Regions from separate parts of the Homo sapiens genome. Here region 2 is linked to region 1. The links are contacts of gene promoters, found by promoter capture Hi-C in human tissues and cell types (Jung and others, 2019). All regions are on one chromosome and are shown on one strand. The core of a region is centred on a gene start or on the middle of the fragment in contact, and the rest is flanking DNA. Distances in the headings are between cores, read along the strand shown.

Evidence for each region. Contacts are between HindIII fragments. The study calls those that stand out against the background at their distance.
Region 2: a contact is called between a fragment that was not itself captured here and the fragment with the promoter of DBH in region 1, in 3 of the 25 tissues and cell types used here (H1 embryonic stem cells, IMR-90 fibroblasts and dorsolateral prefrontal cortex).

What each region holds. Positions count from the first base shown.
Region 1 is chr9:133,632,472-133,638,551 of GRCh38, reverse strand. It overlaps DBH (dopamine beta-hydroxylase), which reads right to left and starts at 2,189. Exons shown (of 12, transcript NM_000787.4): 1 at 1,842-2,189. The coding sequence starts at 2,180. RefSeq lists an enhancer at 189-924. The HindIII fragment of the contact is 16,885 bases long and covers 1-4,347 here.
Region 2 is chr9:133,556,699-133,562,778 of GRCh38, reverse strand. ADAMTSL2 (ADAMTS like 2) reads right to left here. Exons shown (of 19, transcript NM_014694.4): 12 at 1,484-1,581. Among named protein-coding and RNA genes, the nearest start is that of ADAMTSL2, 25 kb to the right of the region's middle. RefSeq lists an enhancer at 5,433-5,934. The HindIII fragment of the contact is 5,763 bases long and covers 458-6,080 here.

The sequences.
Region 1 (6,080 bases), core at 940-3,439:
ACCCCAGCCACCCAGAGCCCACCAGAATTGTCCAAACGAAGCTGCTTCCCTGCCCTGCCTGGCCTTTCCCATGGAAACCCCAAGAAAGCCTCGGGCCCTTGGCCTTAAGGACTTTGGGTTGTGTTTCTTTTTAATCTTACATTCAGGGTAAAACATCTTTTCTTCATTTCCTTGAGAAAAAAGAAATCTGCAAAAGATACTGCAAAACTTTCCCTAGAGAAAAAAGCCACACAATGCAACCCCGCTGGGGACACCGCTGGTTTGCCGAGAGACTCATTTTAAACAGAGGCAGAAAGTTCGCCTGTGATATTTCAGCTGGAAATCAAGAAGATATTAGTTGAACATATTGCTTAGGGAGGAATAATAAGGCTGACATTTGCTTTCGTAGGAATTTGTTGTGCAAATTAACCTTGCCAGTGCACGGAAAGGCAAAGTCACCTGGCTTCCTCTGGCTTCCCTAGCAGCCGGGAAATGCAGGCAGGGGGGACGCTGCCCCAGAGAGGAGCAAATGCTCCTGCACTCAGGGTGCCTCATGGCAGAGGCTTGCGAAGAACCCCAAACTGTCAGCGATGGGGTTCAGCTGCTCCTCCAGACGGCTGACGGCTCAGAATCAGGGCTGTCCCAGGTCTTTCTTGGCTGGAACCTGAGCCACAGAGTGTCTTTGTGCACAGGAATCTGTGCAGCCCTATGGGTCAGAGCAGGGCCCTTCCCAGGCAGCTCCACTCACCCTACCTGGGTGGCCCTAAGCCTCACTAGCGACACAGGCAAGTGCCTCCTGGCCGAGTCTTGGGAATTGGAGGGGGCAAGCTCAGCTCCAGAAACAGCAGCCACCATCTGCCCTCATGAATTCACAACACCCAAAAAGGCAGAGAGGGACTCTCCGCCCCACCAGCCCATGGTGAGACCAAGATGCAGAGCTGGAGCCGGCCGCTCCGCACAGACACAGCTCCCCCGCTCCAGCTCGGCACTCCCAGATAAAGCAGGCACCTCCTGACTTCAGAAATAAAACTTTTTTGTCACTCCTTTGTGTGTTTCTGTGGAGAGAGTTGGGTTTCATCCACAAAGAAGCCCTGGTGGCCAGTCCCATGTGGAAAGGAAGGCTGGAGCAGGACCCATTGTAGGCGGTGGGCTCGCCCACTTCGGGGACCCCCTGCAGCTTGTGGAAGGGCCTAAAGTCCCCTCCAGTTTGAAGGGAAACTTTTCCCCTTTCTCCACCCTGTGAAACAAGAGTGGAGGTAAATTTGGACGGAAAGGAGTCAAGAGCCCATCCTAACAGTTTTGGCTGAGCCCTGTGGGGCTTGTTCAACACCTATGGGTAGGGGCAGGGTGTCTGCACCTGCTCAGTTGGTCCACGGGTACAAGCACAGTAGGTCAGGCTGGATCCCATGGGTGTGCAGGCCTCATGCTGTGCCCAGCCACGCGCCACCACCTGGCCCACATCAGTGGGCATGTGTGCTCTGGGGACGTGGTACTAGGCATTGTTTACAGGGCCGAGGGTCGTGGGGTCTGTGCTCATGCGCGTGTGGGGTGTGGAGCGGCACGAGTGTGTGTGGTGTGTGCGTCCTCTGTGTATAGTTCCATTCCTTGGGATTACTGGGTCCCATGATTTGGGGCGGGCAGTCAAGGACCATGGAAAGCATGTCTTTCCTATTTTGTCCTCAAACTGAGATCCCCATGATGCCCAAGCTCGGGGTGCAGACTTGGCTCAGAGCAGAGTCAACTCAAACACTGACAGGTGACAGAAGAACTTTCTGGGTTAAGGAGGGTGAGTGCAGAAAGACGGCCAGATGGGGTGCCGGGTCAGGAAGGGTTTGGAGAGCTGGCAGGGAGGAGAGACTCACCGCAAAATAGGCAGTGTCCCCATCGGTCCAGAGCACCACGAGATCTGCGTTCTCAAGCTCGCCACGGTCGGACATCCCAAACAGGACGCCAGCCTTGAGCCTCCGCACCAGGAGCTGGAAATGGATGGCCTCCTGGGTGTAGCTGACATTCCATGAGAGCTCCAGGGACCCCTCCGGGTCCAGGGGGATGTGATAGGGGAGGGGGCTCTCACGGGGAGCCGAGCCCTGCAGTGCGGCCACCAGGATGACCAGGAAGATGGCCACTGCTGTGCTGTACATGAAGGCTGCCTCCCGCATGCTGGGGCCGGGCAGGCTGGCCCAGCGACTGAGGGCGGGCATGGCTGGGGTGAGCTCTCTGGTCCCACCTGGCCATTTATGCCCTGGTCCTGAATGGGGTGGGTCCAGGCAGCACGGGTAATCACATTTGTCTAGCGGGGAATCCAATTTTCCCTCCCACAAGCTTGCGCCCCAGGCCAAGCACTCAGCCTGCTGCCCTCCTCTAATTGGCACTAATGACACATGGACGTCATCAGTGGGAGTTGAAGTAGACAGGCGGATGCTGTCCCTTCTGAGATGGCTCTGAAGAGCTGTCCCAAAAGCAGATGCACCCTGCAGCCAAGAGGCCTTTCAGACACCCTCTGGCCAGGCACCAGCTGACTGCCTCACAGGCTGTCTGGCCCAGTCCCCAGTGGGATGGGGTCTGCGTCGCCTCTACCCACGGATGAGCAGACTGAGGTCCGAGGAGCTGCTCCAGGCTGACCAGTGAAGGATAGGCCCGTAGCCACTGCAGGCCTGGCCTAGCGAGCAGAGCCGTTTGTACAATACTAGCAGGTGGGCCCATTTCAAACCAAAAATAAGACAATCTCCAAATAGTCCCTGTGTTTAGACACTCTCTCCACGGCCTGCTCTTCCCACTTTTGTCTCCTCTCAATTTTTCCACAGCCTCCAGCTGGTACCACTGCTGCTCCAGAAGGCGCGAGAGCATCATAGGGAGTGGGGGACATGGGCGTGGGGTGCATTGCTGGGGACAGACGGAGCTGGAGCTGCACAGGGGATAGGCAGGCTGCAGGGTGCACTGCTGGGGGTGACAGCCTTTAAGGAAAAGAGGGTGAGTGACAGGCCTGCTCCCCTGTCTCTGAAGCTCCCAAACCCACAGCTTCCTCTTGCCCAGAGCAGATCTGGCCTGAATTTGAAGCCTCTCAGGGCAGCTGGCCGCAGCCCTGCTTCTCCCACACCTGCCACAGGACCTTTGCCATCATCCACCCGTGGGCCCGAGGGTCAGTCTCACCACGGCACCTCTCCCTCCTGTCCTCTCCCACAAGTAGACTGAGGGCAGCTGCCTTCAGGACATTCTGCTTGATCCCTCCAGCTCCACCCCCCAGGCTGGGTTGACAGATCTCTCCAGCTGGACTAGAAGCTGTCCCTCCTCCCCAGCCTCCTCCCTCCCTTCCTTCCTTTTCCCTCCTGTTTCTCGTCTCTCTGGAGAAACCCAGAATCTAGCCTTAGGGGCACATTCATGTCATAGGCTGACAGCAACATTTAGGTCCTTAAATACCCATGACAGCAGGTCTGGAGGCTGCTTCAGCTCTGAGCTCTACGCTGTAGAAAGGAATGACTGTGTCTTTGCACGAACGTGAAATTTGGAGAAAGTGCCAGCCTTCCCCTGGCCCTCGCAGGCAGTGCTCTCTGCCCCACAGTGGCCAGGCCATCCTGCAAAGCCAAGCTCAGGCCATGAGCCCCTCCCCACTGATTGCACCCAGAGGGGCACCGTTCGCCCCCACCCACAGCCCAGGCAGGTGAGGTCCAAGTGCATAATCACCTGTGCAATAGAGTGTGGCATTGGTGTGAAATTGTCTCCCAGGCCAGGGGAAAGACACTCTTGGGAGTTCTCTGGTGAGCCTTGGGAAGGGTCTCAGCCTCCGAAGGCCTGGCTTTCCCATCAGGACATGCCACCTCCGTCGCCTGAGAGCACCTCACCTTCATGCCTCAGATTAGTTCCAAAACCTCCTCACCTGTGCCTTGTAAGCAGGTGTCTGCTGCATCCCGGACATTCACTCTCGGGACTGGGGAGCGGCCACAGCGAGCCGGTGATACGAAGAGCCTCCGGGGTGGGCAGGCACTGGTGTTCCCAGCACGGGATAACAAAAGCCAGCAGAGGCAGAGGTGAGGGTCACGGGCTCCACAGCACACCCAGCTCAGGGGTGAGCCCTCCCAGCAGCCTGGTGGCCACCCAGGTGGCTCCAGCTAGACAACAGGCTAAACGAGCACCAGCTGGGGCCCGCGTTGTGGGAAGGGGGGCACCTCTCTCCCCTCTGGGGTATTGAGGCCCCAGGCACCCCTCCTGCTCCTCCGGGGTCAGAGCTCTGGGGTCATATCCTGCTCCGCCCTCCTGAATGCGCAGCTGGCGTCCTCAGAGAAGCGCTTTCCAACCCAGCGCCTCCTCCCCATCTACAGACACAGGAAGTTGGATGACAAGGACAATTGATCCCTCCAGCTTCCTTCAACCCAGCGGTTCTGTGGAGCGAGAGGCAGTGAAGAGCCCCTGATGCTACCAGCCCTTGGACGGCTCAACACACCTCCAGGCCTCGCTCCTCTCCCGGATACGCCAAAGACCAACAGCTGCTGGGAGCTCTAAGGAGGGACGGCAGGTGCGGTCTCGTGCTCAGCAGTGTTATGCACACATGTTTATTTTTAACAGGAATCAAAGACATTTTCTTTATCCAACTCAAAACTGGCTTTCCTCTAGCATTTGACAGAAATGATTCAGCTGATTCCAAAATACTGATAACTAAGTCCTAGGGAGGGACAGGAGACACAAGTCAGGCCGCACCAGGGCTTCCCCTGCCCTGCCTCCATCCTGGCCAGCCTTGGGTGGCTGGGTGTGCGATCATCCCTGTCTCAGACACAGGAGAGTCAGCCTCGGAGAGGCGAGACAATGCGCCTGAGCTCACAGGGTGGGCCAGTGCCTGGGGCAAGCACCCCAAAGAGGGTGCCCTGAGCTGGAGGGGGCTGCACACCTTGTCAGCCAAGGTCAGAAAAATTCCACTGGAGTCAAGAGGAAGGGACGCTCAAATGAAAAATGCAACCGCAGAGAAAATCTGCGGAGACTGGGGCCGGGCGGGAGGGAGCGAATCCAATCGGATGGCCCCGTGGCTGCGCCCTTCCTTGCATTAATGGATTTTAAAAGGGAGCAATCCGACCCCAGGGTAAGGAAGCAACAGTCAGCTCTCCTCCTGCCCTCACCCTCCTCAGAGGTGACACCTGCTTGCCAGGTGCTCTCTTGGCCACATGCCTCCCTGTGGTGCCCCGCGGGGGGCTTTCCTCCCTGCTCCCACCCCTGCTGCCTCTGCTCCAGTGTCTGGGTGCACGTTGCCCTCCAGAGGTGGCGGTGGGGGTGGGGATGGGAATGGGGGTGGGAGTGGGGTTGGGGGTGGGGTAGGCCGGGGAGGTGCAGGGTGTCACGGCCACGGTGTCAGGAAATAAGCCCCATTCCTGCTGCTCAGCGCCTGGCTTCCCTCCAAGGCGCATCGACGGCTGACCTTGTTTAGAACCAATTTCAGCTTTTTAATAAGCCCTTTGCTTTCCTGAATCTCTCTGATGCCATCAGCCTTTGCAGGCTGTAATTCCCCATCGCCTCTGCCACATGAGGCTGGCTTCTGCTGACGTCCTAACCTCAGGCAGTGACAACCCCAAGTGGAGCGACGGTGGTGCAGACTGGAGCTGGGTGAGTGAACAGGCCAGGCCACTCCCCAGTGACAACGGGGCCTGGCCACAGGACAGCACTGTCCCTCGCCTGTGGCTCAGGCTCTTAGGGACCTCCTCTTGGCAGGAAAAATTCAACTATCAGTCTGATGGCAGTGCCTAGACCTGACTTGTGATGGGATGGATTGGGAGCTGCTGGGAGACGGTGACTCTGTCCATCACAGAGCCCACTCCAGGGTGGCACAGTCCCCTTGGGGAACTTGGGGCAGCTGGCCTATGTCCCTCCTCGTCCTGAGCATAGGGGCTGCGGTATGAAAGTTAAGAGGCACATTCTGGGCTGGGCACAGTGACTCATACCTCTATAATCCCAGGACTTTAGGAGGCAAAGACGGGAGGATTGCTTGAACCCAGGAGTTCGAGACCAGCCTGGGGAACATAGCATGACCCAGTCTCTACCAAAATAAAAATAAAAACAAATTAGCCAGGCATAGTGGCACAAGACTGTAGTCCCAGCTACTCGGGAGGCTGAGGCGGGAG
Region 2 (6,080 bases), core at 2,090-4,589, 77 kb after region 1:
CACAGCGGTGCGAGCCTGGCCAAGCCGGTGCCCACCACGCCGCCCACGGCGGTGCGAGCCTGGCCAAGTCGGGTGCCCACCACGCCGCCCACGGCGGTGCGAGCCTGGCCAAGCCGGTGCCCGCCACGCCGCCCACGGCGGTGCGAACCGGGCCCAGCCGGGTGCCCGCCACGCCGCCCACGGCGGTGCGAGCCGGGCCCAGCAGGGTGCCCGCCACGCCGCCCACGGCGGTGCGAGCCGGGCCCAGCCGGGTGCCCGCCACGCCGCCCACGGCGGTGCGAGCCTGGCCGAGCCGGGTGCCCGCCACGCCGCCCACGGCGGTGCGAGCCTGGCCGAGCCGGGTGCCCGCCACGCCGCCCACAGCACTTGCTTTTTCCCTCCAGGATGCCAGGCGCAGGGGCGAACACAGCATGCCCCATGGCTATGCCCTGTTTGGGGGCTCTTGTAACAGGAGGCAGAGCCCTTTCTTCAGTCCCAGAGAGGCAAGGCCAGTGTGAGCAGAGCCTGCAGGGCCGCCCCAGCCCCTCCCTCTCTCGGGCCCATCTCCTGAGATGCCAGCAGGGCTGCAGAGGGTGCGGCCAAGCTCAGACTGCCCAGCTGTGTGGAATCCTCACTGGCCAGAGACTGCAAGGGCATCAAATGCCCTGGCAAATGGGTGGCACTGGGGCGGGACCAGGAGCATCAAACCTTTTGAGGGCCAGCTGGGTATCCTCTACATCCAAACATGAAGCCCCAAGAATAGATAAAATGTGACCTCACAGCCGGCACTGGGGTCTCCCTGCCATATTTTCTCCCATCAACGGCCCTGTATCCTGATCCTGGGTTTGACATCAGACCTCGCGGCATCCCCCAGGGGAGGGTACTAGAGTGGGCAGCAGAGGCAGCTCCAGCTCTAGCGGCTGTGGCCAGCGTCTCAGGGCGATGGTGGCCGTGCAACCAGACAGCTGTGGGTTCAAATCCCAGCTCAACTCTTACTAACCACACACATCTGTCTGTCCAGGCACCACCGAGGAGGGTCTTTTTTCCCCTCCTAACTTCTCCCCTGCTGATGAGGTCCTAGAATTTGCCTACTTCCCTTCGTCACAGATCACAGGGGCCTATGACTCCCTTCCTATGTTTGCTGGAAGCAAAAGTAAAATCTCTGCTACCTAAGATTTCTTACTTTTAACCCAAAGGATGTTTGCCCTAACAAAACATGGTATCACTGGCAACAGACAAGGGCTACCACCAATGGGTGGTAGCCCGGATGACCCCCAGGGGCCTGGACCTGACCATGGTCTAGCACACTGTGAGAATGAGGGTGGCCTCACCAGACACCCAAACTCCTATCACGCCACACTGCCCCCAAGTCAGGAGGCCACGGACAAGCACCCCGAGGGCAGTTTGGGGGCTGCAAGCTAGTGGGTGGGCCCCACAGCCCCAGCCCATGTCCATGGAAATGGGTTCAGGGCAGTTGCTGCCCCTTGGCACCCGTGACCAGTACCTGTGGTGCAGGTGGCACTGCAGGGCTCGTGGGACGAGAGCTTCCACCGGTACATGTCCGCGGGACTCACGCCTTGCTTGCGCGCCTTGGGCCTGGTCCTGAAAGCGAGACCAAGCAGGGAAGGTGATGAGACGCTCCAGGCCCCACCGGCAGGCTCCGGCTTTTCAGGCGAGGGAGTTTTCTTCGGAGGGTATGTTCGCCTGAAGCACACACCTGTCCTGAGCCCCGGGCCGACCCTCCACCTGCTACGGTCAGAGTTCCCACTGTCTGAAGTGGAACGGATGAGGCGCCCGCAGAGGGGCACATTTTAGGATTGATTGGCATTGTTTTCCATCTCAACTGCATGGGAGCTGCCCGAGCTCCTTCCGGAGGGGAGGGGTGGCCTGAGAATTTGGGGCCCCCAGCACTGTAGTTGCTCCCTGCACACACGCAGGCTTCTCAATATTACCTTCTCACATCAGCTAGTGGGTTCCTTCTTCCCACCGGGGAGGGGACCTCAGAAGGTGTCTTATGTGCTAAGAATGTTCCAGAATTCTCTCCCACCCCCTCCTCCAGCTGGGACTCTGATGGAATGGGGGACACTAGGCATCCAGCCTCCAATTATCAAAATTAAAAAGCTCGGCTGCTGGCAGGGGCCGAGCCTACAGTGCAATTCAGGCAGGCCATGGCTGCACGGACCTGCTGGGGTCGGGGGAGGCACGCTGGGTCCCAGCCAGCCACCAGCTATGATTCTTGGCTGGAGCCTATGCAGCCAAAGCCAACTATTGTTAGGACTGTTTGCTTCTTTGAACCAGTAGGTGTGCCTGGGCCCAACCTCCACATCCAATGTGCAGGCTCATTCTGGACTCGGCAGGGGAGGAGGGAAGCAGAGGCGGCAGCAGCTCCACAGCCCGGGCATCTGCTCTGGGACGCCACCATGGAGTCCCGCCGCCCCTGAGCCAGAGAAGGGGCGATGGCAAGCCGGCGCGGTGGACAGCAGGTCCTTCGAGCCTCGACTTCCTTTTTAAACTGGACAGTGCAGCAGGTGGCATTGCCCAACTCCACTTTCCTCTGGGCCCAGAGGGGCTGGCTAGAGATGACCCCAAGCCGCCATACTTCACTGGGCTGAAACGTGGGCCAGGTCACAGGTCCTTCTTCAGGACCTTCAGTCACCTGGGGGTGGTCAGGCTTAGAGCATTATATTCAGAAAGGCTTTCAGATTGACTCCGTGATACAGACATGGGTTTGGATTGAATGGGGAGTTTACAATGTGTTAGGCAAGCGGGTGAGCATTGCTCTTCTGTTTTGCTTGGACTGGAATGGGAGGATCCCACAGCCAGGCAGTATTTGTGGGGATGAACGCTGCCTTGACCACACATCTGAGGCCCCAGGAATGATCTACCCACAGGAGCTTCAGCAGTGAGTTCACTGGTGTGGCTCCCTAAACTCAGGGAGGGAGAAGAGGAGTGAAGGGAGAAGGCATGGGGACCAAGGCCCAGGAAGGGCTGCGGGCTGGGGGCTGGTCCCACTGTTTCTTCAAAGCCTCCTTCACCTGGGAGCTTCAAGCCAGGAGAGTCTGTCCCATCCTGGGGCTCAAGGGGAAGGGAAGAGTGCCTTCTCCTCCCTCTTTCAGAACTTAGAGGAAGCTTTAAAAATGGGGGTGGGGGCCAGGCGCAGTGACTCTTGCCTGTAATCCCAGCACTTTGGGAGGCCGAGGCGGGTGGATCACGAGGTCAGGAGATCGAGACCATCCTGGCTGACATGGTGAAACCCCGTCTCTACTAAAAATACAAAAAAAAAAAAAAATTCACCGGGTGTGGTGGCGGGCGCCTGTAGTCCCAGCTACTCAGGAGGCTGAGGCAAGAGAATGGCATGAACCTGGGAGGCAGAGCTTGCAGTGAGCCGAGATCACACCACTGCACTCCTGAGCAACAGAGTGACTCCGTCTCAAAAAAAAAAAAAAAATGGGGGTGGGTGGGGGGTTTCCCAAGACCCTGTCATCTCAGAACAAAAGTTCCCTGGAAACCTGGAAAACTGCCCCAATGGGGGCCACTCAGAGCACCCAGATCAGGATAAGTAAGTCCTTTCAGGGAACGGAGAACCCGGAAGACCAGTCCTTAATGTTCGATTCAGAAAACACTAAACTGTGCTGACCAGTTCCCCACCTACTTTCAACAGCTTTAAATTCTCCCCAAGAACAAAAAGAGATGAAAAGATCCAACCCATGCCCCTCCACCCCACCCATGGAGACGCTCCGCCATCTTTATCTAATTACATGCTCTGAGCCAGCAGGCAGCATGACTCATGCCTGACTCAAGAGAGAGCGGGCCCGGTTCAAAATAACCCTTTGGATTTTAAGCACCAAAGGTATTTCTGGAGGGGCTGCCCACACACTCTTCGCAGCAGCACGTGTGGGGCATAGCAGATGCAACTCTTGAACATAACCCTGCATATATTTGCACAACAATGCAACGCCTAGCAGGTTCCGTTCTTGGAAGTAGCACAGGGAAGCGGAACACCAAGGAAATCGCTGAAGCACCAAACCGTCGCTCTCCTCCATCTGGAAGGAAGTCACTGCCCCTCTCAGCTGTGAAAGTCAGAGCTGCTAGACTGGGGCTGGTGACGGCTGTGGAGTCACCACCAGACCACCTGTCACTCCTCAGGGTCCTTCGCCCAGATGCCCGGCCAGACACAGGCTCACGGGCTCCCCAGGCAGGAGAAGCTCTGAAGCCACCGTGTTTGTTTATAAACAAGCCAGAAAGTGCTCTGTTCTTCTCTCCCCCCAAGGCTGCGGAGAGGGACTCCGCGTCTCTGTGTCTCAGAAGCTTGTTCCCAAAGTCGGAGTCTGGTGACAGGGGCCCCTCCCTTGATTGTTTGAAGCTTTTCTGGAAAGATGAAAATAGCCTTTCCTTTCTGGGCTGCCCCTTTGATTTTGCCTTCTCTGAGCAGACACGACTTCCTGTGTTTGGACAACTCGGCCGAGACGTGGCTATTTTGGCCTGGTGGTTTCCCCCGCCGCCTCCCTCTGCCCTTTATCTCTCCACACCATCTTTGGTCCCTGTGCGGCAGCATCCTTTGATGGCAGGCCGGCCGGGGGAGCAGCGGCATCTCAGCAGTCAGGGCCTTTCTGAGTGCTGACAGCCTAGTTGATCGACCCTTGAGGCCCCTGACAGGCCCTGGAAATTCAATATATCCTGGGGCGGGGGGCTAAGAGGGGAGGGTAAGAGTCAACCAAGATGGGGCAGGAGAGACTCTTTACAAAGCGGCTTGAGGATCCGTAAGCTTGTGCCATGACCCTGGCCTAAGGATCACTGAATATTTGACCTGGTGGGCCCAAAGGGCAGCCCCTGACAAGCCCCCCAGTGAGAGATGGGGAAACTGAGGCCCAGAGGAAGACAGAGATGCTCAACTCACACAGTGTCCATGCCTTAAGCCAAATTCCACAGCGAGGCCTCGGTGCCACTCTGATAAACCTATTCTATTTGGAGGGCCGTGACTGCCGGAGAGCTGGCCTCCCTGACCCAGGCAGTGGGTCCTGAAAGGCACCCCCCACTGCTGCCACTTGGAGGCTCAGTTTTCTACTAATAGCTTCTACTTACTGGAGGCCTTACCGTGGGCCTCACACACGGAATACCAGGGAATGCCCCGGACTGCCCTGGGAGGTGAAGAGGGCCCACGCTGAAGACACAGACAGACTGGCAGCCTTGAGTAGTGCCGTTCCCACAGGCAGGCACTGTCTGGGTCCGTCCCTCCTGCCCTTTACCCAGGACCCCCTCTCAGACTCAGACACTATACCCAAAGCAAGGCCCGGCCCTCCCCGCCCGAGTCCTGAGAACCAGCCACAGGCCCCACCTACCCAAGGCTTTGAGCATGCCAAGGTAAAGGGTGAGCAGACAGCCCTGTGCCACCCCTGTGGGAAGAGGGGCAGCCAGAGGAGGCTCCGAGGCCCCACTCTGTCCACATCTGCAAAGTAGGATTCCGCCCAGAGCCTGCCAGAAGTGCTCAGGACATCCTCCCTGCACCCCGCAGCCCCAGGCACCTCGGTGGCCTCAGAAAACAGTTTGAGAAAAGCGGCAGGCATCCCCTGGGGCTCCTGGCTCACCAGGGAGGTTGGCTTTGTTGCTCTGGTCCCAGGGCTGGATGGGTGGGAGGGTGGCCCCAAACCACATCACCTCGAGAGTGAACCCTGAATCTCCCATCAAATTCAGTCCCTGAGCCCCAAGGAAGACCCACTCAGCACTCCCAGCCCAGGCCGGGTTCAGTTCATGCTTGCGTCTAAAGTCAAAGGGCTTGGGTTGGACCTCAGAAAACAAAACCAAACACCAGTGAGCCCGTGCCTGCCTCCAACCCCCACTCACTGCCTGTTTAAAGTAGCCCCCAGGCACATGTGAGTTGCTGGGAGAAACTGTGGGGACCTGCAAGGGTGGCCACCCTCTATCTGGGGGCAGGCGGGGCTTGTCACCACGGACTGTGCTCCAGTAGGGACACGACAGGTCTGGGGTCACCCTGCTCACAGCTGGCCCCTGACACAGGGAAGCTCCCAACCTCAGACTTCCCCAGGTCTAGCTGTGACTGCCCAGGCGTCCCCAGCTGTGACTGTCCAGACAACCCTGGCTGT